Linked DNA regions of Homo sapiens: all the other regions are linked to region 1. The links are contacts of gene promoters, found by promoter capture Hi-C in blood cells and fetal thymus (Javierre and others, 2016). All regions are on one chromosome and are shown on one strand. Each heading gives the region's core, a stretch centred on a gene start or on the middle of the fragment in contact. The rest is flanking DNA. Distances are from core to core; before and after follow the strand shown.

The links. Contacts are between HindIII fragments. The CHiCAGO score rates a contact against its expected background, and 5 or more counts as called.
Region 2: a fragment that was not itself captured here is called in contact with the fragment with the promoter of OR10W1 in region 1 in 1 of 17 cell types (endothelial precursors); the score reaches 8.0 in endothelial precursors.
Region 3: a contact is called between a fragment that was not itself captured here and the fragment with the promoter of OR10W1 in region 1, in 1 of 17 cell types (endothelial precursors). The highest score is 5.7, in endothelial precursors.
Region 4: a contact is called between a fragment that was not itself captured here and the fragment with the promoter of OR10W1 in region 1, in 1 of 17 cell types (endothelial precursors). The highest score is 7.5, in endothelial precursors.

The regions. Positions count from the first base shown.
Region 1 is chr11:58,264,442-58,270,260 of GRCh38, reverse strand. It overlaps OR10W1 (olfactory receptor family 10 subfamily W member 1), which reads left to right and starts at 2,001. Exons shown (of 1, transcript NM_207374.3): 1 at 2,001-3,469. The coding sequence starts at 2,403. The coding sequence ends at 3,320. The HindIII fragment of the contact is 7,272 bases long and covers 1-3,704 here.
Region 2 is chr11:57,852,900-57,858,232 of GRCh38, reverse strand. No RefSeq gene overlaps it. Among named protein-coding and RNA genes, the nearest start is that of CTNND1, 94 kb to the right of the region's middle. The HindIII fragment of the contact is 1,656 bases long and covers 482-2,137 here.
Region 3 is chr11:57,819,618-57,825,354 of GRCh38, reverse strand. No RefSeq gene overlaps it. Among named protein-coding and RNA genes, the nearest start is that of CTNND1, 61 kb to the right of the region's middle. The HindIII fragment of the contact is 1,710 bases long and covers 2,609-4,318 here.
Region 4 is chr11:57,877,438-57,883,272 of GRCh38, reverse strand. No RefSeq gene overlaps it. Among named protein-coding and RNA genes, the nearest start is that of CTNND1, 120 kb to the right of the region's middle. The HindIII fragment of the contact is 5,774 bases long and covers 1,178-5,835 here.

The DNA.
Region 1 (5,819 bases), core at 752-3,251:
CAGCAGAGCAAGCAAACCAGGAGATAATGGGATTCCCTGGGCATTGAAGGTGACCCAGTGTCTACACACTGTATTGGAAATTCAAGTATCTAATAACTGGGGATCAAATTGGCCATTTTTGAGGTCCCTTCTTGCAGTTAGAATTTATGACTTATAATAGCTCTGATGTAAATATTTTAAATATTTTATTATAGGTGGAGTGTTCAGATTACAAATATTATAGAGAGCAGTATTCAGATGATAACTATATGACATGACGGATATGCTGATTAGCCTGATTTGATCATTCCACAATGTGTATATGTATCAAAGCATCACATTGTACAATTATTATTGTCAATTAAAAACAAAATATAACTTTTTGAAAAGATGATATGAATGTAATAGACTACAATAAAATTCTCAGAAGTTGTCATTGTGACACAGATTTCAAACTGTCTCTGTATAATAATATAGATGGTAGACTAGCCTTTAGATGTGTGCCTGTTGTAGACTTCCATATGCTATGTTCTTGAATGATAGAATTATTTCCACAGTGCAGCCCAAATCTTAGATACGAAGTTGTTTTATATAAGGACTCCTAAACAAGTGATTTGATTATGAATAATCTTAAATCTTTCATTGCACGGCAAAGTGAAAGTAGAAAATGAAGAAAATGTATAAATAACATTTTCAAGCTGTATTATCCATTCGACATATAATTATTGAGTGTCTAAAATTTGCACAACATTAGGCGTGCTTATATGGGATGATCAAAATGTAAATAAAGCAGAATGGCTGCCCTTGAATTTATAAATAATAATGATGATTATCTTTTATTAGGTTGCCATTACTATGGACAGTTCATTGTGATATCTTACATTACTATTGCATTTAAACTTACAGCAATTCTTTTGTCTAAGTATAATTATTATTCCCATTTTTCAAATACAGAAATTGAGGCTTAGAGAAATTATATATTACCTAACATCATGAAGCCAGGAGCTGGAATTATTCAAACCACATCACTTCCCTTCACTGCTGATTTCACATTGATACACTGCCCCTCCTCCACATGATATAGTATAATGTGCAATATGCTAAGTGGCATTAGAAACCACTCAAAGCATTATTGAAGTTCAGCTCAGGAAAAGAGACCAACTGAAATAGATACCACTTGTTAGCTGTTGGAAAAACAGCAGAGAGCCATTTCTGCCCTAGGTGCTCTTAATATTTGTAGCTGCCTACTCATATTTTTCCCCATGCTTGTGACACTGAGGTGGGTTTGTGTGAATAATTTTTACTGGAAGTGGTGCCTCTGGGTAGAGATTTCTCTTCAAATCTCATATTCAATGACAGGAAATATTAAAATTTGGCACGTTGAAACAAGGCCACACATTACGTCTTTTCCACCTTATTTAATATGAGTTGGTCTGGGAAAAGAAGTGGAATGGATGCCCTTTGCAAATTACGTCTGTTTATTAAAAGGTTTTTGTGGAAAAGATATGGCTTCTCCCAGATTTCACATTAGCTTCTGAGAAATATGAAAAATAGATGGGCTTAGACTTTCATAATCATGCCCAAATTCACAGGAAGGCTTCTTAGATTTCCAACATCTTGGGATCACATATTTTCTCATACCTCCACCCACGCCAGGAGGAAACATATGATAAAACACCTTGTTTCCTTCAAGCCTTATACTTCTGGTCAGATAAGGATAGAAAAACCAATAGTAGACAGGGCTTTGCTTTCTGAGGCGTATCCCTGACACTGTCATACTCAGGCCTCTGTTAGCCCTTTGCTTCATGGGTAATTTTTTTTCTTTCTTCACTTCCCATCACTAGTTTTGAGAGTTACATTGACATATCACTTATTCAATACCCCAGGAGATATTGAGTGTAAATATTAGGTTGGTGCAAAAGTAATTGCAGTTTTTGCCATCAAAATGGCAAAACCGCAACTACTTTTGCACCAACCTAATAAATATGTGAATGAATAAGTGAATGAATAAATGGCTTATCTCCCTTACCTTAATGATTTCTAGCCCCAAGAATTCCTTGACACTTTCTTGTGAATTTGCTGAAAGAATTGAATTTTCATTCCACTCTTTCTGAAAATAGCTCCTGAATCCCACCCACTTCCTCTGCCATTTTTCTTCAATAGTATCTTACATAGTTTGGCCCAACTCTTGGCAGGTAGAAATTGAGGTGTAGATATTAATGTGGAGAAACTTGGTAAAAGTGGAGAAAAGAAAAAGAACTAGTCTTGATCCTTCCAGTTTCTAACTCCAGTGCTGATTACATTAGATTCATGGCTCAGAGTGTAACTTAATTTATCTTCAGTCTGATTCTTCCTTCTGTACTTGTAGCTCTCCACAGAGAAATACTGTTAGCTCAATTACCTGGGAAAATCACTCAGTGTTGATGGAATTTGTGTTCCTGGCCTATCCCTCCTGCCCAGAACTGCATATTCTGTCCTTCCTTGGGGTCAGCCTGGTTTATGGTTTGATCATCACTGGGAACATTCTCATTGTGGTGTCCATTCACACAGAAACCTGTCTATGCACATCCATGTACTATTTCCTGGGCAGCCTTTCTGGGATTGAAATATGCTACACTGCAGTGGTGGTGCCCCATATCCTGGCCAACACCCTACAGTCAGAGAAGACCATCACTCTCCTGGGCTGTGCCACCCAGATGGCTTTCTTCATTGCACTGGGCAGTGCTGATTGCTTCCTCTTGGCTGCCATGGCCTATGACCGCTATGTGGCCATTTGCCACCCGTTGCAGTACCCTCTCCTCATGACATTGACTCTTTGTGTCCACTTGGTTGTGGCATCAGTCATCAGTGGTCTGTTCCTGTCCTTACAACTGGTGGCCTTCATCTTCTCTCTGCCATTCTGCCAGGCTCAGGGCATTGAGCACTTCTTTTGTGATGTGCCACCAGTCATGCATGTTGTTTGTGCTCAGAGTCACATTCATGAGCAGTCAGTGCTGGTGGCAGCCATACTAGCCATTGCTGTGCCTTTCTTCCTCATCACCACCTCCTACACCTTCATAGTGGCTGCTCTGCTCAAGATCCACTCGGCTGCTGGCCGCCACCGGGCCTTCTCCACCTGCTCTTCCCACCTCACTGTGGTGCTGCTGCAGTATGGCTGCTGTGCCTTCATGTACCTGTGCCCCAGCTCCAGCTACAACCCCAAGCAAGATCGGTTCATCTCACTGGTGTACACATTGGGAACCCCACTGCTCAACCCACTTATCTATGCCCTGAGGAACAGTGAGATGAAAGGGGCCGTAGGGAGAGTTCTTACCAGGAACTGCCTTTCCCAGAACAGCTAGGAAAGACGAGGGGACAGCCTATCAGGCAAGTATTTGGTTCCAGCCCACCAAATCTGTATGAAACTGAGATTTCTATCATTTGGTGTTAAAACTCATCTAAAAGATGGTATAAATTATATGGATACTGTTTATGTGTGCCAAAGATTTTTAAATATTTCTACAATTTGACTCTGTAATTTCTCTTCTTGGAAAGAACTACATGAGCATAAAGTGATATAAAGTGGCAAGTATAATACTTTGTCCAGTTACCAGCTGAGAAGAGATAGCTCACTCAATAGATTTTTAACTAAAAAAATATTTAAAAAGGGTTATCTGCAGTGGTTATAGGTAAGGAAACCAATAAAATGTGGCAGAGCACTAACACGCTAGCAATAGCAGGAAGCTTTCTCAGCCCTAGACTTAAAAGGTGTGCCATAGAAGAAGGGTGCAACATTATCAGAGTCCAGTGACAGTTAGATCTAAGCAGATAAACCACTTGGTAGAAACTGTGGCATCAGAAATAAAAAGAAACTATGACAGAACTATGGCCATGCAAGGAAGAGACAGGGAGGCAAATACCCCAGCGTCTCTTTGCTCAAAATCTTCCATTTCTTGCCCTGTCTCCATGGACCAAACTCAACTGGCAGCAAGAAGGGAGGGGAGACTGGGTGAATCAGTCCACAGAAGTCAGTCTCCTAGGGCACAGGGAAAGGCAGACAAAAACCTAGAGAACCAGGGTCAAACAGAGAACAATCAGAACAAATTTGTTGTTTATTATAGCATCATACATAAAAATGAAAATAGGCCAGTTGCGGTGGCTCATGCCTATAATCCCAGGACTTTGGGAGGCTGAGGTGGGCAGATCATGAAGTTAAGAGTTTGAGACCAGCCTGGCCAACATGGTGAAACCCCATCTCTACTAAAAGTACAAAAATTAGCCTGGCATGGTGGCGTGTGCCTGTAATCCCAGCTACTTGAGGGGCTGAGGCAGGAGAACCGCTTGAATCCAGGAGGCGGAGGTTGCCGTGAGCTGAGATTGCGTCATTGCACTCCAGCCTAGGGGACAGAGCGAGACTCCCTCGGTCTCAAAAAAAAAAAGAAAAGAAAAGAAAAGAAAAGAAAAGAAAGAAATTAATCCACTTCTCCTATAATAAAGTATTGGTTAAACAATTACTATGTAAAAAGATATTATTCAGCCTCAAATTTATATTTTCAAATACTAGTTATTAGTAATAGATAATATTAAGTGCTTCCTGTGTGCCAGAAATACATATTCTATCAATCTTCAAAAAGCTCATTAAGACTATTATCTCTGTTTTTTATATAAATGGGAGAGTTCTCAGAAAACAGACCCTGACAGTGAAACCAATATAGTAGGTTCCACTTACCTGCAGGTTTACTTTCCACAGTTGCAGTTACCCGCGGTCAATGCAATATAAAAATATTAAATAGAAAATTCCAGAAATGAGCAATTTGTAAGTTTTAAATTGTGTCCTGTCCGGAGTAAAGTGTTGAAATTCCAAGCCATCCTGCTCTATCCCACCTGGGAAATGAATCGTCCCTCCCTTTGTTCAGCATATCCACATTGAATACACTACCCATCTGTTACTATGTATAGAGTTCAGTACTATCCACAGCTTCAGGCATCTACTGCAGGAGTCGTGGACTGTATCCCCCTTGGACAAGGTAAGGGGGGACTATTGTATCTGTACATAACTATGGATCAGGAAACCAGTCCTAGGGAACATAATTGAGCTGTAATAAAGGAAGATTCTCTGCTGCCAGAGTGGAGGATACCAATAATGTGCCAAATTGGATTCAAAATTGCTACGGAATAGTGACTGCATTGTGCCTCCTGTTTCTCACCCTTTTGAATGGAGGTGTCTATTCTCATGTAAATATGGAGTTGATGCTAAGTACAAGATCCTCAATTTTGAGCCTGGATTGTAAATTTTATCTTTAAGATTTGTTTTATGGCACAACATATGTTTCATTCTGACATCCCACGTGTGTCCTGTGGATGTTGAGTGAAATCCATTAAGTCAGGTTAGCGAATAGTGTGGTTCTAATCTTCAATATCTATGCATATTTTTATCTACTTGTCTTACCAATTACTGAAGGAGATGGGCTTAAATCCACAACTGTTATTATGGATTTGTCCATCCCTCCCATTAGCTCTAACAATTTTTATTTTCTATATTTTGAATCTATTATTAGATGTAAGTATATTAAGATTTGTTCTATCTTGCTGATAAATTAACCATTTTTATCATTAAGCAATGCTCTTTTTAATTGCTGATAATCTGTCTGATCCAGAATTCTACTTTGTCTTAATAGCTGCATTGTCTTGTCTATACTTATATTTGCGTGATACTTATTGCTCTTCCCTTTTATTTGTAACTTTTTTCTCATATGTAAGGTGTGCCTCTTGTAAATAGCATGTAATTCATACTTTTTCTTTTTAACTTGCTCTTATTGGAGCGTGTATATACCATCTTCCCATATGTTTTTTATTTACTC
Region 2 (5,333 bases), core at 60-2,559, 410 kb after region 1:
TCTTTCTCCTCAGTAGCAAAGGAATAAGGCCCACTAACTGAGTGTTTGCCCCAAGACAGTAAATGAACAGACTGCAATGAATTTATCCATTTCTTTTCTTTTCTTTTCTTTTTTGAGATGGAGTTGCACTCTTGTTGCCCAAGCTGGAGTGCAATGGCACGATCTTGGCTCCCTGCAACCTCCACCTCCCAGGTTCAAGCGATTCTCCTGTCTCAGCCTCCAGAGTAGCTGGGACTACAGGTGCCTGCCACCACATCCGGCTAATTTTTGTATTTTTTTAGTAGAGGCGGCGTTTCACCAATTTGGCCAAGCTAGTTTTGAACTCCTGACGTCAGGGGATCCGCCCACCTCAGCCTCCCAAAGTGCTAGGATTACAGGTGTAAGCCACCGGGTGCCCCGCCGAATTTATCTATTTCTAATGGTCATGCTGCAACTGGATGGACAAAAGCCCATGATAAAAATTGATAAACTACTAGAAGCTTCAGTGGTTTGATCATTTTCATTGCAATATTCTGGAATGGGGGGTGGGTAGGAAAGCTATTTTCCCATTCAGACAGTCCCTGCCTTTAATAATACATAATGCTTTCCTGGAAAATGTTTTGGAAAGTAGAATGCCTGAAATTTGAACTTTATACTTAAATGTTTTATTTGGTGGGGGAAGGAGGAAAGGAGGAAAGGAAGGAATTCAATCCATAGAGCTAGAGAAAAAAATTATGACGTCTCAAACATGATATAAATGCTTAACTTGATTTTACATCTGAATGTTATACACCATATGCAGATATTTAAACTATTAAAAACAGATTGTATTTTATTTAATTTATTTATTTATTTATTTATGTTTTTATTGAGACGGGGTCTCGCTCTGTCACCCAGGCTGGAATGTAGTGGCGCAATCTTGGCTCACTGCAACCTCTGCCTCCCGGGTTCAAGCGATTCTCCTGCCTCAGCCTCCTGAGTAGTTGGCACTACAGGCGTGTGCCACTACACCCAACTAATTTTTGTATTTTTAGTAGAGACGGAGTTTCACCATGTTGATTGGGCAGGATGGTCTCCATCTCTTGACCTCGTGATCTGCCCATCTCAGCCTCCCAAAGTGTTGGGATTACAGGCGTGTATCCTTGCAACTCAAAATCCTTCTGGTGTATCCTTGCAACTCAAAATCCTTCTGGTGTATCCTTGCAACTCAAAATCCTTGTTCATTCAGTTTACTTGAAATGATATTTGGCATATTCCTTCTCTCAGGGTTCACAAAGTACCAAGGAATAAGAATGGGACAGAGAGGGATACCTGCATATTGGCATTTACCATAACATCTTTATTCCCATTTGGTTTCCAACTGCCCAACCACGTTGATCATATTTATGACTCCATGTCCCAGAAGGAAAGCCTCTCCAGGCTCTCAGCTACTCCTTTTTCCCTCTCAGAGGGCAGTGGACACATCCATCCACTGTCCCATGCCACTCTGGGTTCATAGGAATATTGTCTCAGACTCTCTCTGCCTGGCCCTGCCACACGAACATTTCTTCTCAATGTCTACACTTCAAAAGGCACAGAAGCGGCCGAACGTGGTGGCTCACGCCTGTAATCCCAACAGTTTGGAAGGCCGAGGCGGGTGGATCACAAGGTCAAGAGATCGAGACCATCCTGGCCAACATGGTGAAACCCCATCTCTGCTAAAAATACAAAAAAATTAGCTGGGCGTGGTGGTGCATGCCTGTAGTCTCAGCTACTCGGGAGGCTGAGGCAGGAGAATCACTTGAACCCGGGAGGCAGAGGTTGCAGTGAGCCGAGATCGCGCCACTGCACTCAAGCCTGGGTGACAGAGCAAGACTCTTATCTCAAAAAAAAAAAAAGAAAAACGAAAAAAGGTGCAGAAGCTCTAGCAATTTGGGCCACTGGATAGATTCCTCCTTAAAGATTCACCAGACTTAGAGCTCACTTCTCCTCTGACTGTCTTCACTTTACAAGTCTAAGGAATTTTTTTCTAGTCTTTAAGAGAAAAGAAGACACTGGAAAAACTGGCTCTGACTGATCACATATTCTCATGTGCCTGTGGTTAAGGCCTGAGTTTATTCTCTGGGTTATTCTCTGAATTTATTCTCAGGATGGTTCTAGCTTTTGAAGTTCAAAAGCTTTTTAATCACAAAGGTTTTTATCTCTACCTTGAGTTTCCAAAACATATTTTAAACCTCAAAGGCCAAGGATTGACTTCTTTGGTATCTGCACTATGCTGCAACAACCCTATCCCGAGGCATGGCTGCCAAGAGGTCAAGTTTGAACTGGGAAGGACCCCCAGGTTAAAAAATATATATATTATCTGGAAAAAAACCTGATACATCAAAATAATATTCTGCTACACGTAGTTGTAAAGATCCACACATTTGTTCCATGACTGCACCTTATTTTTAGCCACAAGCTTTGCCAACATACTTATAACATTTTGTACATGTGTTTTAAGTTTGACTGTTTTCTTTTATAATTGAACACAGTTGTCAGATCTGCTTAAATTTGATAAGCATCAAAATTTACTGTTTCTGGCATACTAAATAATAGCTTCCTTTGACACAATTGGAAAATCATTAACATCAGCACTTTATTTTTCCAATTCCACTATACTTTTATAAATAAGGGCAAATATGCAACAAAATGTTCAAATCACTGCACAGACATTGCCATATTTAGATGGCAACACTGCTAAAATGAAACTATTGGCTGGCAGACAACAGTAACATAATGTAACTTGAAATAGTTATTTGTCTACTAAAATAAGAAAGTCAAAATTTGGTATAGAAAAGTTTAGAAGTGTTTATGTGTAATATATGGAAATGATAGTCATGTAAAAGCTAATGACTACCTGAATTTTGATTCATTAATTTTTGTTCATCTTCACCTAGCTCCATATCTCTTAAATATAAACAATTATTTTAAAAAATTATTTGTAACAGCTTTATTTAGATACAAGTCACATACCATACATTTCACCCATTTAAAGTATATAATTCAGAGGCCGAGGTGGGTGGATCACTTGAGGTCAGGAGTTCGAGACCAGCCTGGCCAACATGGTGAAACCTCATCTCTACTAAAAATACAAAAATTAGCTGGGCGTGTTGGCGGGTGCCTGTAATCCCAGCTACTCAGGAGGCTGAGCCACGAGAATCGCTTGAACCCAGGAGGTGGAGGTTGCCATGAGCTGAGATCTGCCATTGCTCTGCAGCCTGGGCAACAAGAGCGAAACTCCGTCTCAAAAAATAAAATAAAATAAAACTAAAGCATACAATTCAATGAATTTTAGTGTATTTACAGAACTGTACAACCATCACCACAATCAATTTTAGAAAATTTTCATTATCCCAAAAAGAAGCCCTGTACTCTTTAGCCACCATCTGCCAATCCCTCTATACCCTGCAGTTCTTTGCAATAATTAGTCTACTTTCTGCCACAATAATTTGCCTATTTTGACATTTTATATAAGTGGAATCACAAAAAAATGTGTTAGAGATGGGTTTCTTTCACTTAACAAAATGTTCCTAAGTTTATCCATGAAGTACCTTGTATCAGTACTTCATTCCTTTTTATGGCTGAATAATATTCCATTGTATGGGTATATGGCTAGACTACTCTTTATTTATTTATCAGTTAATAGATATTTGGATTGTTTCTACCTTTCAGCGATTGTGAACAATACCGCTATTAACATTCATGTACAAATTTTTGCATGAACATATATTTTCAATTCTCTTGGTTATATATCTAGGAGAGGAATTGCTAGGCTATAGGGAAACTCTATGTTTAACCTTTTGAGGAATTGTCAGACTGTTCCAAAGTGGCTGCATCATTTTACATTTTCACCAACAGTGCATGAGAGTTTCAATTTCCCCACATCCTCACCAACACTTATTATTTGTCTTTTATTATTATAGCCATCCTAATGAATATGAAGCAGTAGCTCATTGTGGTTTTGATTTGCATGTTCCTGATAACTAAAATCTTGAGCACCTTTTCATGTGCTTACTGGCCATTTTGATATCTTCTTTGGAAACAACTGTCTATTCAGATCCTGTGCTCATTATTAGTTGGATTATTTGTCATTTTATTATTGACTTGTAAGAGTTCTTACACAATCTAGATAAAAATCCTTTAACAAATAACATGATTTTCAAATATTCCTCCCATTGAATATCTTTTCTTTTCATTCTCTCATAATGTCCTTTAATTTTTTTATGTTTTTCTAGGGTTTTTTTTATTATTATACTTTAAGTTATAGGGTACATGTGCACAATGTGCAGGTTTGTTACACATGTATACATATGTGTTGGTTTGCTGCACCCATTAACTCGTCAATTACATTAGGTATTCCTCCTAATGCTATCCCTCCCCCATCCCCCCACCCTATGACAGGCCCCGGTGTGTGATGTTCCCTGCCCCGTGTCCAAGTTTTCTCATTGTTCAATTCCCACTTCTGAGTGAGAACATGCGGTGTTTGGTTTTCTGTCCTTGCGATAGTTTGCTCAGAATTATGGTTTCCAGCTTCATCCATGTCCCTACAAAGGACATGAACTCATCCTTTTTATGGCTGCATAGTATTCCATGGTGTATATATGCCACATTTTCTTAATCCATTCTATCACTGATGGACATTTGGGTTGGTTCCAAGTCTTTGCTATTGTGAATATTGCTGCAATAAACATACATGTGCATGTGTCTTTATAGTAGCATGATTTATAATCCTTTGGGTATATACCCAGTAATGGGATCACTGGATCAAATGGTATTTCTAGTTCTAGATCCTTGAGGAATTGCCACACTGTCTTCCACAATGGTTGAACTAGTTTACACTCCCACCAACAGTGTAAAAGCGTTCCTATTTCTCCACATCCTCTCCAGCACCTGTTGTTTCCTGACTTTTAAATGATCACCATTCTAACTGGTGTGAGATGGTATCTCATTGTGGTTTTGATTTGCATTTCTCTGATGACCAGTGATGATGAGCATTTTTTCATGTGTCTTTTGGTTGCACAAATGTCTTCTTTTGAGAAGTGTCTGTTCATATCCTTTGCCCACTTTTTGATGGGGTTGTTTGATTTTTTCTTGTATATTTGTTTAAGTTCTTTGTAGATTCTGGATATTAGCCCTTTAGATGGGTAGATTGCAAAAATTTTCTCCCATTCTGTTGGTTGCCAGTTCACTCTGATGGTAGTTTCTTTTGCTGGCCAGAAGCTCTTTAGTTTAATTAGACCCCATTTGTCAATTTTGGCTTTTGTTGCCATTGCTTTCGGTGTTTTAGTCATGAAGTCCTTGCCCATGCCTTGTCCTGAATGGTATTGCCTAGG
Region 3 (5,737 bases), core at 2,214-4,713, 450 kb after region 1:
AATGATCATTCTAAATCATCTCAAAAATCTGAGCTAGATTTCAGAGTCACTAACCTCGATAAAAAGAAATAAAAAGCCGGGCACAGTGGCTCACACCTGTAATCCTAGCACTTTGGGAGGCCAAGGCGGGCAGATCACCTGAGGTCAGGAGTTCGAGACCAGCCTGGCCAACATGGTGAAACCTCATCTCCACTAAAATACAAAAATTAGAGAGGCATGGTGGCGGGCAACTGTAATCCCAGCTACTCGGGAGGCTAAGGCAGGAGAATCGCTTGAACCCAGGAGGTAGAGGTGGCAGTGAGCAGAGATTGCACCACTGCACTCCAGCCTGGGTGACAGAGCAAGACTCCGTCTCAAAAAATAAAAATGATAAATAATAAATAAAAGATTAAAGCAAAAGGCATTTGAATAAGACAGTAGATAGTACATCTTGATCCCATATATAAATCTAAGCTTGTTTCACTAGTATAGATATGCTTTAAGTGCACCATAAGGGACAGAGAAATGTCTGTTGCAAATGTGTGACATTGTAATGCACTACCAATTCAAAATTGAATCAATGCCCCTGAGTAAGCCCTTCTTAGTGCCCAGGAAATGATGACCCAGAGATGAGCTTGAATAGCCCAATGCTTCCCTGTGACCTCTCCTACTCTAAAGCCAGTGGTACCTAAAAATGATAACATCTTCATGTCAAAGGGTAGCCTCCAGCTTCAGTCCAGCCCTACTCTGGGTCAAACCCTTTTAGGATATGGGGAGGATACTCAGACAAGTAAGACTTTGCAATTTTTTTTTTTTTTTTTTTTGAGACAGAGTCTTGCTCTGTCGCCCACGCTGGAGTGCAGTGGCATGATCTCGGCTCACTGCAACTTCCGCCTCCCGGGTTCACGCCATTCTCCTGCCTCAGCCTCCCGAGTAGCTGGGACTACAGGCGCCCACCACCACGCCCAGCTAATTTTTTGTATTTTTAGTAGAGATGGGGTTTCACTGCATTAGCCAGGATGGTCTCGATCTCCTGACCTCGTGATCCGCCCACCTCGGCCTGCCAAAGTGCTGGGATTACAGAAGACTTTGCAATTTCATCAGCAAAATATGAAAGCATTTGTACTGACTGTGTCTTTAAGCCAGGCTGACCAACTCACTTACCAGCCAATTTTTAACTTTGCTTTTATAGAAATTGTCTTGGAGCTATTCCCTTTGTCCCTATTCTTGTTCTTCACTCTGCTCTTTGCTGCACACATCTACTTAACTTGCCACACGCTATACCCAGTGCTGTGATATAAAGGTGGGGGCTTCACCACTACCTACCACCACTGCCCTGCAGGCTCAGCTTGTTCCATCAGATGCAGCACCAGTACTAACCTTGCCCATACTCCTTTTGCTTTCTTCCCTCTCTACTTGTTTGGAAGTTATATGTCCTATATTCATTCTTTAGTGGTTATTCCAGCTAATATGTATTAGGTTGGTGCAAAAGTCATTGCAGTTTTTGCCATTTCAATGCAATTACTTCTGTACCAATCTATTTAGTTTTTCAAGTCTTATCAGTATCTTTACTTTCCTCCTGAAGAACCCGAAAATTAGTGTTGTAATTGCTCCCTCAACTTTACATGCTATTGTTGTCCAGCATTTTAATTCTAGTCTGTATTTCTCTCCCATAAATTACACACTCCTCTTACAGTGAAGGCTTTAGCAATTTCGTTCAGTGTTCCTTCTTGCATCTGATTCTCCATCTGAGATCATTTTCCTTCCACCTCAAGGACATCCTTTTGTAAGTGGAAACTCTGCTTTTGTCGGAAAATGTTTTTAGTAGCTTTTTAAAAAGTGTCACCTCAGGTAAGCTTTCATAATAAGTTCCTTTTTCTCTTAACATGATGAAGATAAATTTCACTGTTTCCTGGCTTTCATTGTTGACACAGAAGTCACCATCTGGCTGGTTTTCTACAGGTAGTCTGTATTTTCTCTCCAGATGCCCACAATCTTTTCTTTGGTTTTCTGCATCTCACCCTGATGTACTAGGTAAGTTGGTTTATCTTGCTTGAGATTCACTGGGCTCCCTAAGTCTGAGGTTTGGTGCCTTTCATCCAACCCTAAAAAATTTCTCTTTGAATATTGCCTCCTCCTATCTCCTGATGTTCCAAATAATGTTTATTAGATCTTATTCCATTGTTGTCTCAACCTCTTGCCTATTTTCCATTCTCTATCTGGAGTGCATTCTGTATAATTTCTTATCTTCCAATTCACAAATCCTCCTTCAATTTGTCTAATCTATTTAATCCATGCATTGACTTCTTACCTCAAATTTGTATTTTTCACTTCTAATTCAAAAAGGTTTTTCCACTAATTCAAAAAGTTCATTAATCGTTATTTCATTATAGTCTGTGCAACAATGCCAACATCTGAAGTATTTAAAAGATCAGCTTCTGTGTCTGTCTTTTCACTCATTGTGCCTTATTTCTTTGTTCAGTTTATAATTTTTGGGCAAGAGCACTCATTTGCCTTGAAAGTATATCTATGGGAATTGTTCTGAGGCCTTAGAGGAATTGCATTTGCTTCTGAAAATCACCTGGAAGCATAAACAAATGAGTACCACTTTAAATTCCCCAGTTAAGCTTTTTGGACCACACAGGTAGCCTAAGTTTGGACTGAAAGCCCATAGAAGGCCATTTGTGGTTATAAATCATCAGGGAAAATATTCTATAGTTTCCATGTGCCACTAAGGTTGAGACAAATGAGTTCCTTGCTGCGCCCTTCTATGGAGTGTTTATTTCTTGTTCACCTTTACACTGAGGGTGTCCAGCTTTATGAGGGAACCTACTAGATTTCTCATTTCCTGTTGCCCATACTTTGTGTAATCACTAAAATAGAAGGTTATGGTCTGCTGAATTTGGCAAAAATTCTGAGGAAAAGCTGGCTTTGGCAGTTACTTCCTAGGATTCCAGCTTTTGCTTCATTTTGAAGAGCCGTAGGTTCCTTACTTTCGTGCCTGCTCAGCAATATGTTTAAAAGTATTTTTTATAAATATATTTACCCAGTATCTTGGTTGCTTCTGCTGAAAGGACTTTTCAGAATTATCTAATCCAGCATACTGCCAAAAACAGAGCCCTGAATTAGTTTCAAATACGCACACCAACGCACTCCCCCTGCCCCGATTCTGCCAACGCGTGAACTGTAAGACCAAAGCTAAGCCTGCCTTTAAGGTGGAAGGAAAAGAAGAATTGAGGTGAGCCAGGCATGGTGGCTCACGCCTGTAATCACTACACTTTGGGAGGCCGAGGCAGGCAGATCACCTGAGGTTGGGAGTTCAAGACCAACCTGACCAACCTGAAGAAACCCCGTCTCTACTACAAATACAAAATTAGCCAGGCGTGGTGGCGCATGCCTGTAATCCCAGCTACTCCAGAGGCTGAGGCAGGAGAATTGCTTGAACCTAAGAGGCGGAGGTTGCAGTGAGCCAAGATTATGCCATTGCACTCCAGCCTGGGCAACAAGAGCGAAACTTCACCTCAAAAAAAAAAAAAAAAAGAATTGAGGTGAAGACAAAAATTGGGTAATTGACTGGAACATCACCACAAATATCCCATATTTCTTTTTCCTCAGGCATAAATGTCTTATGGCACTGTCCATTAGCACTAGAGATACTGGGGGAAAAGACAGCAGGGTAGTAATACTTTTGTGTCCTCAATAAAAGTGGAATAACCTGTCTTTTTTAAAAAATAAAGTAGTATATGGAGATAAGTATAGCACTTTTTCTCAGGTAAAAAAAAATTTTAAAGCTAGTTGCCACATGCTTATAGCTCCTACAATTATAACAAGTGTAAAGCTCTTAGTCCATTCATGGATAGCTATCCATGGTCATTTTACACTGCATAAAAGGAGAAAAATGTCAGGTTAAAATGATGCAGACCAATCAACCTATCTTACCTCCTCCAGCTTTCTCTTCATCCATGTCTGTCTCTAAATCCTGGATGGATCAGTTGAAGAACTAATGCTTTAAGTGACACAGGCAACAGAACAGTCTTAAAGCTGTGTGAAAAAAAATTGTTCCTAACAATTATCTTGTTTCTTTTTTGAGCTTTCCTGAGGTAGCTCTTTCTGGAAGCTACCAGAGTGATTTAAGTTTCCAGATGTGGTCTCCTTGGCTTTAGCCAATGGGGCCACTTGCTCGCCAGTTGAGATACCCTTTGTAGCTAGAAGTGACACTTAAGTCAAAGTCGGCAATTCCAGGGGATTCTCTGTGACCTACAGGACCCCAAATTAAGGGCTAGCTTCCTGCCTCAGCAACCTGAGCATTACCTACATATGATTTTCAGGATGAGAAGCTTCTCCTACCCAGATACCACACACCAACCTATCACTTACCATTATCTCAAACTCTATTGAAAGCAATGCATTCCTTTGAGATAAAGTTTCCTCTATGAATGCTCTCTTAAAATGGTGATCACCACATCATATTGTCTACATTCACCATGCTAGTATTACTGCCAGTGGAGTTGAAGCCAGTAATCCTGGGTTCCACTTTGAGGCTATAACCTTAAGCAAGTCACTAGATCAGTCCCTTAAGTCACAGTTAACTGACCACATACATCAGAATAACCTGGATGGGCCAGGCATGGTGGCTTATGCCTGTAATCCCAGCACTTTGGGAGGCCTAGGTGGATGGATCACCTGAGGTCAGGAGTTCAAGACCAGCCTGGCCAACATGGTGAAACCCCGTCTCTACTAAAAATACAAGTATTAGCTGGATGTGGTGGCGGGTGCCTGTAGTCCCAGCTCATCAAGAGGCTGAGGCAGGAGAATCGCTTTAATCCGGGAGGCAGAGGTTGCACTGAGCTGAGATCGTGGCATTGCACTCCAGCCCGGGTGACAAGAGTGAAATTCCGTCTCAAAAAAAAAAACAAAAACAAAAACAAAAAAAAAGAGGATAACCTGGATGACTTACCATGATTTTAGATTCCTCAGTCCCACCTACTGAATCGATTTTTGGAAATGGAACATGGGACTCTGCATTTTCAACAAGCATACAGGGAATTCTTATGTAACTTGCTCAGATATACAGGGCTAGGTCTAGTCAATTCCATCTATGAAAATATTAAGAACCTTTGCTTCAGATATAAAAATAGACAAAATGAGAAAAAAATGATATGGAAAGACTGGTTCTTAGTTCTTCCTGGGTGAGGTGATTCCAGTTTGTAGCAAAGAAAATTAGTTCAGCAAGAAAAACAAGTGGCCGGCCATGCGCAGTGCCTCACACCTGTAATGCCAGCACTTTGGGAGGCCAAGAAGGGTGGATCACTTGAGGTCAGGAGTTTGAGACCAGCCTGGCCAACATGGTGAAATCCTGTCTCTACTAAAAATACAAAATTAGCCAGGCGTGGTGGTACACACCTGTAATCCCAGCTACTCGGGAGGCTGAGGCAGAAGAATCGCTTGAACCCAGGAGGCTGAGGTTGCAGTGAGCCGAGATTGTGCCCCTGAGTGACAGAGCAAGACTCTGTCTAAAAAAAAAAAAGTGGCCAAGTGAGGTCCCAGCTTTGACCTCTGTCACAAAGTACATCAGTGTCAAGAAACTTGTGAGATAGGGCCTTTACACATCATTCTGTGTAACATCTCATTGTATTTAGATATGGCACAGAGAGAAGTGTTTTTAAGATCATAGATCTTGTCTATGGCCATATCACCCTGAACGCACACGATCTCGTCTGATCATAGATCTTAGCTATAGAGGATTCTCATGGATTGC
Region 4 (5,835 bases), core at 2,815-5,314, 390 kb after region 1:
CACCTCAGCCTCCCAAAGTGCTGGGATTACAGGCGTGAGCCACTGCACCCGGCCTAGTAATTCTAATTTTTTAATTTTTATTCAAAACCTGGTTGGTAGTTAGTCTTTAATTTATAAAAATGAGAACTGCTCAGGTAAGGTGGCTCATGCCTGTAATCCCAGCACTTTGGGAGGCCAAGACTGGAGGATCACTTGAGACCAAGAGTTCGAGACCAGCCTGGGCAACGTGGTGAGACCTCATCTCTACAAAAAAATTTTTAAAGTTAGCTGGGCATGGCGATGCATGCCTATAGTCTCAGCTACTGGGGAGGCTGAGGTGGGAAGATCGCTTGAAGCTGGGAGTTAGAGGCGGTAGTGAGTTGTGATTGCATCACTGCACTACAGCCTGGACAACAAAGCGAGACCCTGTCTCAACAACAACAAAAAATGGGAGCTGCATTACATTAATAAGTGTTTTCGGAGGCAGCCACAATATTTCAGTATATGAAGTTTACAGAATATACTGCTTTGAGGTGAAAGGAGAGAGCCACTCTTGTAAATGATTCCAGGTTTGTTACCTATTAATGTCCTATTTTGTGCTGCACTTTGCTCTATCCAAGGATTTTTTGTATGTAAGAAACAGAAAACTATTCAAGTTGAGCTCAAATAAAGAGGAGGTGTACTGCAAAGGCAGCACAATCTTTCAGATGCTAAACACATCAGGCTTCCTTAGGACTTGGATCTGGCTTGTATGTGGGAGGCTGTCAGGGATGGAGCCTCCATGCATCTCCCTCTTACTGGAGGTGAATGATGTTGTATCTCTGCTTCTTCTTGTATGCCTTTCCCCATCTCTTCACTGCAGTGTGGCCCCCTCTGCTTAGCCATGGTTTCTGCTCCCCACTAATGCAGCTTACACATGGTTCTGGTTGCCATGGTGCCAGCCCCTAGCCTGATTGAAATGGGCTTCTGAGTTTAGCCACCACAAGCACATTTGTTCCCCAGATTCCTGGGAAAGACCAGTTTGGAGATGTCCATTCCTGGTCCAATAAGCCATGCCCAGAGAGGGAGCCATGACATGGTACTCTAGACTATACCTAAGTGGCAGCCTAGACTATATCTCAAACTGAAATGAAAGAGCAGTTCCCAGAGAAAGGGGCTATGGACAGGCAGGCATCCCAACACACATTCACTACAAGCTTTTATTTGCAAAAGATATCAAGTCTTCTTGGAAATGGTCACTATATAAATCTTAAAGAATAGTAATTAATATTAACAAGGAACTCATCAGATATTTATTGAGAACCTGTTATGGGCAGCTGTGTGGATGCTACAGTCTGGTTAGGAGGGAAAAGGATATACACACACATAAATGAAAAGTATGTAATTATTGACGTAAGTGTGGCCCCACCAAAAAGCAAGACAGGAAGTCACTAAAGGGAGGAACCAGAGATCAGAATTGCTTGGCAAGCCCAGCACTTCCCCCTCTCAGCCTATTCCTACTGTTTCATCTCGCGGTGACCACCTTTCCTCTCCACCTCTCTTTAACCTGTATCAATGCAAACCCTACCTCCCTACACCACCCCCCAAAAAATCTTTCCTGATTAAACCAGCCAGAAGTAATTTCTGCATTCATAGAACCTTTCACAGCACTTCTAAGCACTTCTTTTAGGGCACTTAAACCTTTGTGCTGTTCATTATATAATCATTGAAGTACAGTAATATCTCTTCTACCAGACTGTAACCTCCTTGATAATAAAAACCATGATAGTCAAAGGACCTAGGGCAGCTCCTTGCACATGGTAGGCATTTAATTAATATCTATCACATTAATTAATGCATAAAATACCTGCATATAAGCATGAATAAGCAAACAGTAGGTATATGTAGGTAGGATTTGAACATGTGCTACAGAGAGGATATTCAAGGTAAGGTAAGAGAAAGTTTGTTTATTTATTTATTATTTATGTAGGCAGAGTCTCACTGTTGCCCAGGCTGGACTATGGAGGGCAGTGGTGCGATCTCAGCTCACTGCAGCTTCCGCCTCCTGGGTTCAAGCGATTCTCATGCTTCAGCCTCCTGAGTAGCAGGGATTACAGGCATGCACCACCACCCCCGGCTAATTTTTGTATTTTTAGTAAAGACAGGGTTTCTCCATATTGGCCAGGTAGGTCTTGAACTCCTGGTCTCAAGTGATCCACCTGCCTCAGCCTCCCAAAGTGCTGGGATTACAGGTGTGAGTCACCACGCCCAGTCAGATAAGAGGAAGTTTTTGTTTTTCCTTCACAGTGACAGCAGTTTACATGTAGACACCAAATTCATCCAGGGCACATTTTTCTGAGCCTCACCTGGTATCAGTAGATTAAGTAACCATGCTTGTCTTTCTTACCAATCTAAGCCCACTGTTACAGACTCAACAAAAATGTCCACCCTTTCTCTCTTGACTGCATCAAACTATAGAGGCTTGATAAGCCAATTGCTCTTTCCCAGGCCCTTTGTGGCTAGAAGTGATCATATGATATACATCTGGCCAATGAGCTTTAGGAGAAATCAGCCAGCTGGTTCTTGGCTTCTGCAGAAGACATTTCCTGACAAGACCACTGCAAAACTTCTTGTAAACAAAGAATAAATATTCTTACAGCTTAAGTCACCTTGCTTGAGTTTTCTGTCACTTGTAGCTGGACAAATGTAATAGACCCATCTAACAAATATTCCATTAATTCAGCAAGTTATTCTTTTAAGCTCCTACTAAAACCTAAGCCCTATTCTCTTCTCACCTTACACAAAGTTTGCCATCCTCGCACATACTCTATTCTTTTTTCTCTCTTTATCTATTGGGAAATATTGGTCCTTCCTCTCCTCTACTTTACATTTTGTGGGTCCATGAGAAAACACCTGCTTAATTAATTCATTCTATTCCAAAATAGAGAAGGAAGGCAATTAGACTTAACCCATGCTTTACAAACTGACATGCCTCTCAGGTGAATCTTTACAACCACACTTTGTGGTATTTTACGCTCATTTTGCAAACAGAAACCTTAGGCTAATTGTAACCGAGGTAAATGTGATGAAGCCAGATTGTCTTTACCTGTTTAATTGCAAAAGCCATGCTCTTTCGGCCTCCTTGGGCTCTCTCCCACCTACTCTCACTTCCATATAAATTGGCTTCTTTGGGCTTATGCTGTTTAAACAATCAACAAAGTCCACACATTCACCTCCATTTCTATGTCTGTATTTGTCCTTCACAGTCAGCACTTGGTTATCAGCATCCATGGGAAGACAGCAGTTGCACAGATACCCCAAACATAACTCAGTCTCAGAAACCCACAAGGTAATGTGTTTTGACAGCAGATTTTCCTTCTAAGTGCTTGTGGAGGCTAACACTAAGAAAAACTGGAGCTTTCTAAATACTCATCCAACGATGGCAAAGTAAAAAAGCCCAGGCTGAGAAAGGCAGCCACCTGGTAGGGTTAGAAATGACAGCAGGTGGGTGCCGGGCGCAGTGGCTCACACTTGTAATCCTAGCATTTTCGGAGGCCGAGGTGGGAGGATCACCTGAGGTCAGGAGTTCAAGCCAGCCTGGCCAACATGGTGAAACCCCATCTCTACTAAAAATACAAAAATTAGCCAGGCATTTTGGAGCATGCTTGTAATCCCAGTGACTCGGGAGGCTGAGGCAGGAGAATCGCTTGAATCCAGGAGGCGGAGGTTGCAGCAAGCTGAGATCATGCCACTGCACTCCAGCCTGGGCAACAGAGTAAGACTGTCCCAAAAAAAAAAAAAAAAGAAATGACAGTAGGTGGGGTAGTAGGCCCCATGTAGACAGTGGGAAGTTAGCTACACAATTGTATGTTCAGACTCTGAACTCAGAAATTAATACAGATCAAAAGAAAAGCCATGCTCTTTTGACTTTTTCTAAGGAAACGAGGGAGAAGAGGAGGAAGAAACTAGCAGCAGCTACAATTTACTGAGTATCTGCAATGTGTTCCTGTTCTCTCACAAGTAGTCTATCATTTAACTCTTACAGCAAGCCTGGAAGTCAGGAACCATCACATCCTCTCTTTTTAACATAGAGTTTATCATTTTAACCATTCAAATATACAATTTACAATCTAAGTATATTGCATACAATATAGATTGTACATATACAATTTAAGTGCATTCACAATATTGTGCAAGCATCAACACTGTCCCTTTTCAGAATCTTTCATCATCTCAGACAGAAACTCTGTACCTATTAACAACTTCCCATTCCCTCCCTTCTTCCCCCAGCCCCTAGTCTACTTTCTGTATCTATGAATTTGCCTATTCTAGTTATCTTGTATTTGTCTGTTCTTGCACTGCTATGAAGAAATACATGAGACTGGGTAATTTATAAAGAAAAGAGGTTTAATTTGCTTACAGTTCTGAAGACTGTACAGGTAGCATGGCTGAGAAGCCCTCAGGAAACTTTCAATCATGGCAGAAGGTGAAGGGGAAGCAGGGATGTCTTACATAGCTGGAGCAGGAAGAAGAGAGGTGCCACGCACTTTTTTTTTTTTTTTTTTTTGAAATGGAGTCTCATTCTGTCACCCAGAGTGCAGTGGCACTATCTCAGCTCACTGCAACATCTGCCTCCTGGGTGCAAGCGATTCTCATGCTTCAGCCTCCCGAGTAGCTGGGATTACAGGCGGGCACCACCACACCCAGCTAATGTTTGTATTTTTAGTAGAGACAGGGTTTCACCATGCTGGCCAGGCTGGCCTCGAACTCCTGACCTCAGGTGATCCACCTGCCTCAGCCTCCCAAAGTACTGGGATTACAGGTGTTAGCCACTGCGCCCAGCCAGATGCCACACACTTTTAAACAACCAGATATCATGAGAACTCACTCACTATCACAAGAACAGCAAGGCAGAAGTCCTCCCCCATGATCCAATCACCTCCCACTACGCCCCTCCTCCAACACTGGGGATTACAACTGGACATGAGATTTGAGTGGAACACAATTCCAAACCATATCATTGTATAAGTGAGATCATGCAACAGTTGTCCTTTTGAGTCTGGTTTACTTCATTTAACATAAAGTGACGGTTCACACACGTTGTATGTAACCAGATACATACTATATACAGTGGAACACTCTATGGTAAAATTATAGTTAAAATGAATGATGAACTATAACTATGTTATTAGCATTGGCTGGGCATGGTGGCTCATGCCAGCAATCCCAGCACTTTGGGAGGCCAAGGTGAGAGGATTGCTTGAGGCCAGGAGTTTAAGACCATCCTGGGCAACAAAGAGACACCCCATCTCTATTTTTTTTAATAACTATATTAACATCCTGAAGAGTTCTTCAAAATATTATGTTGAGAGCAAAACAGCAAATGGCAAACTAATATGTAAACTCTGGGATTAAATCATAGTTCTTCCACTTTCTAACTGTATATAACTGTGGAATTTACTTCTCTGTGTCTGTTTTCCATCTGTAAAATAAGAATAATAATTGGACCTAATGTTGGTGTCGAGGGACTAAATGGACTTAATATGTACCTTTGCCTTAAAAGAGTGCTGGCACCAATAAATGCTCATGATTATTATTATTACTTATAGATTCACATCAGTAGTAAAATATAGACTTGCTAAAAAAAATTATTCTAAACGTGGAAATAATGGGAAAAGGTGTGGGATGTCCTTTCAATATCATATGGGGACATTATTTAATAGATTTAATAGGTCCACCAAGGGTAATTCAGGAGAATATACTTGATTTGACTCACTGCTTCCTATTGACTAAAAGTCTCAAATTTAGTGAAATTACATGTTAACTTACACATTCTTGTTCAGTAGAGATGCAAATAATTTCTGTCTTATAGAAAAG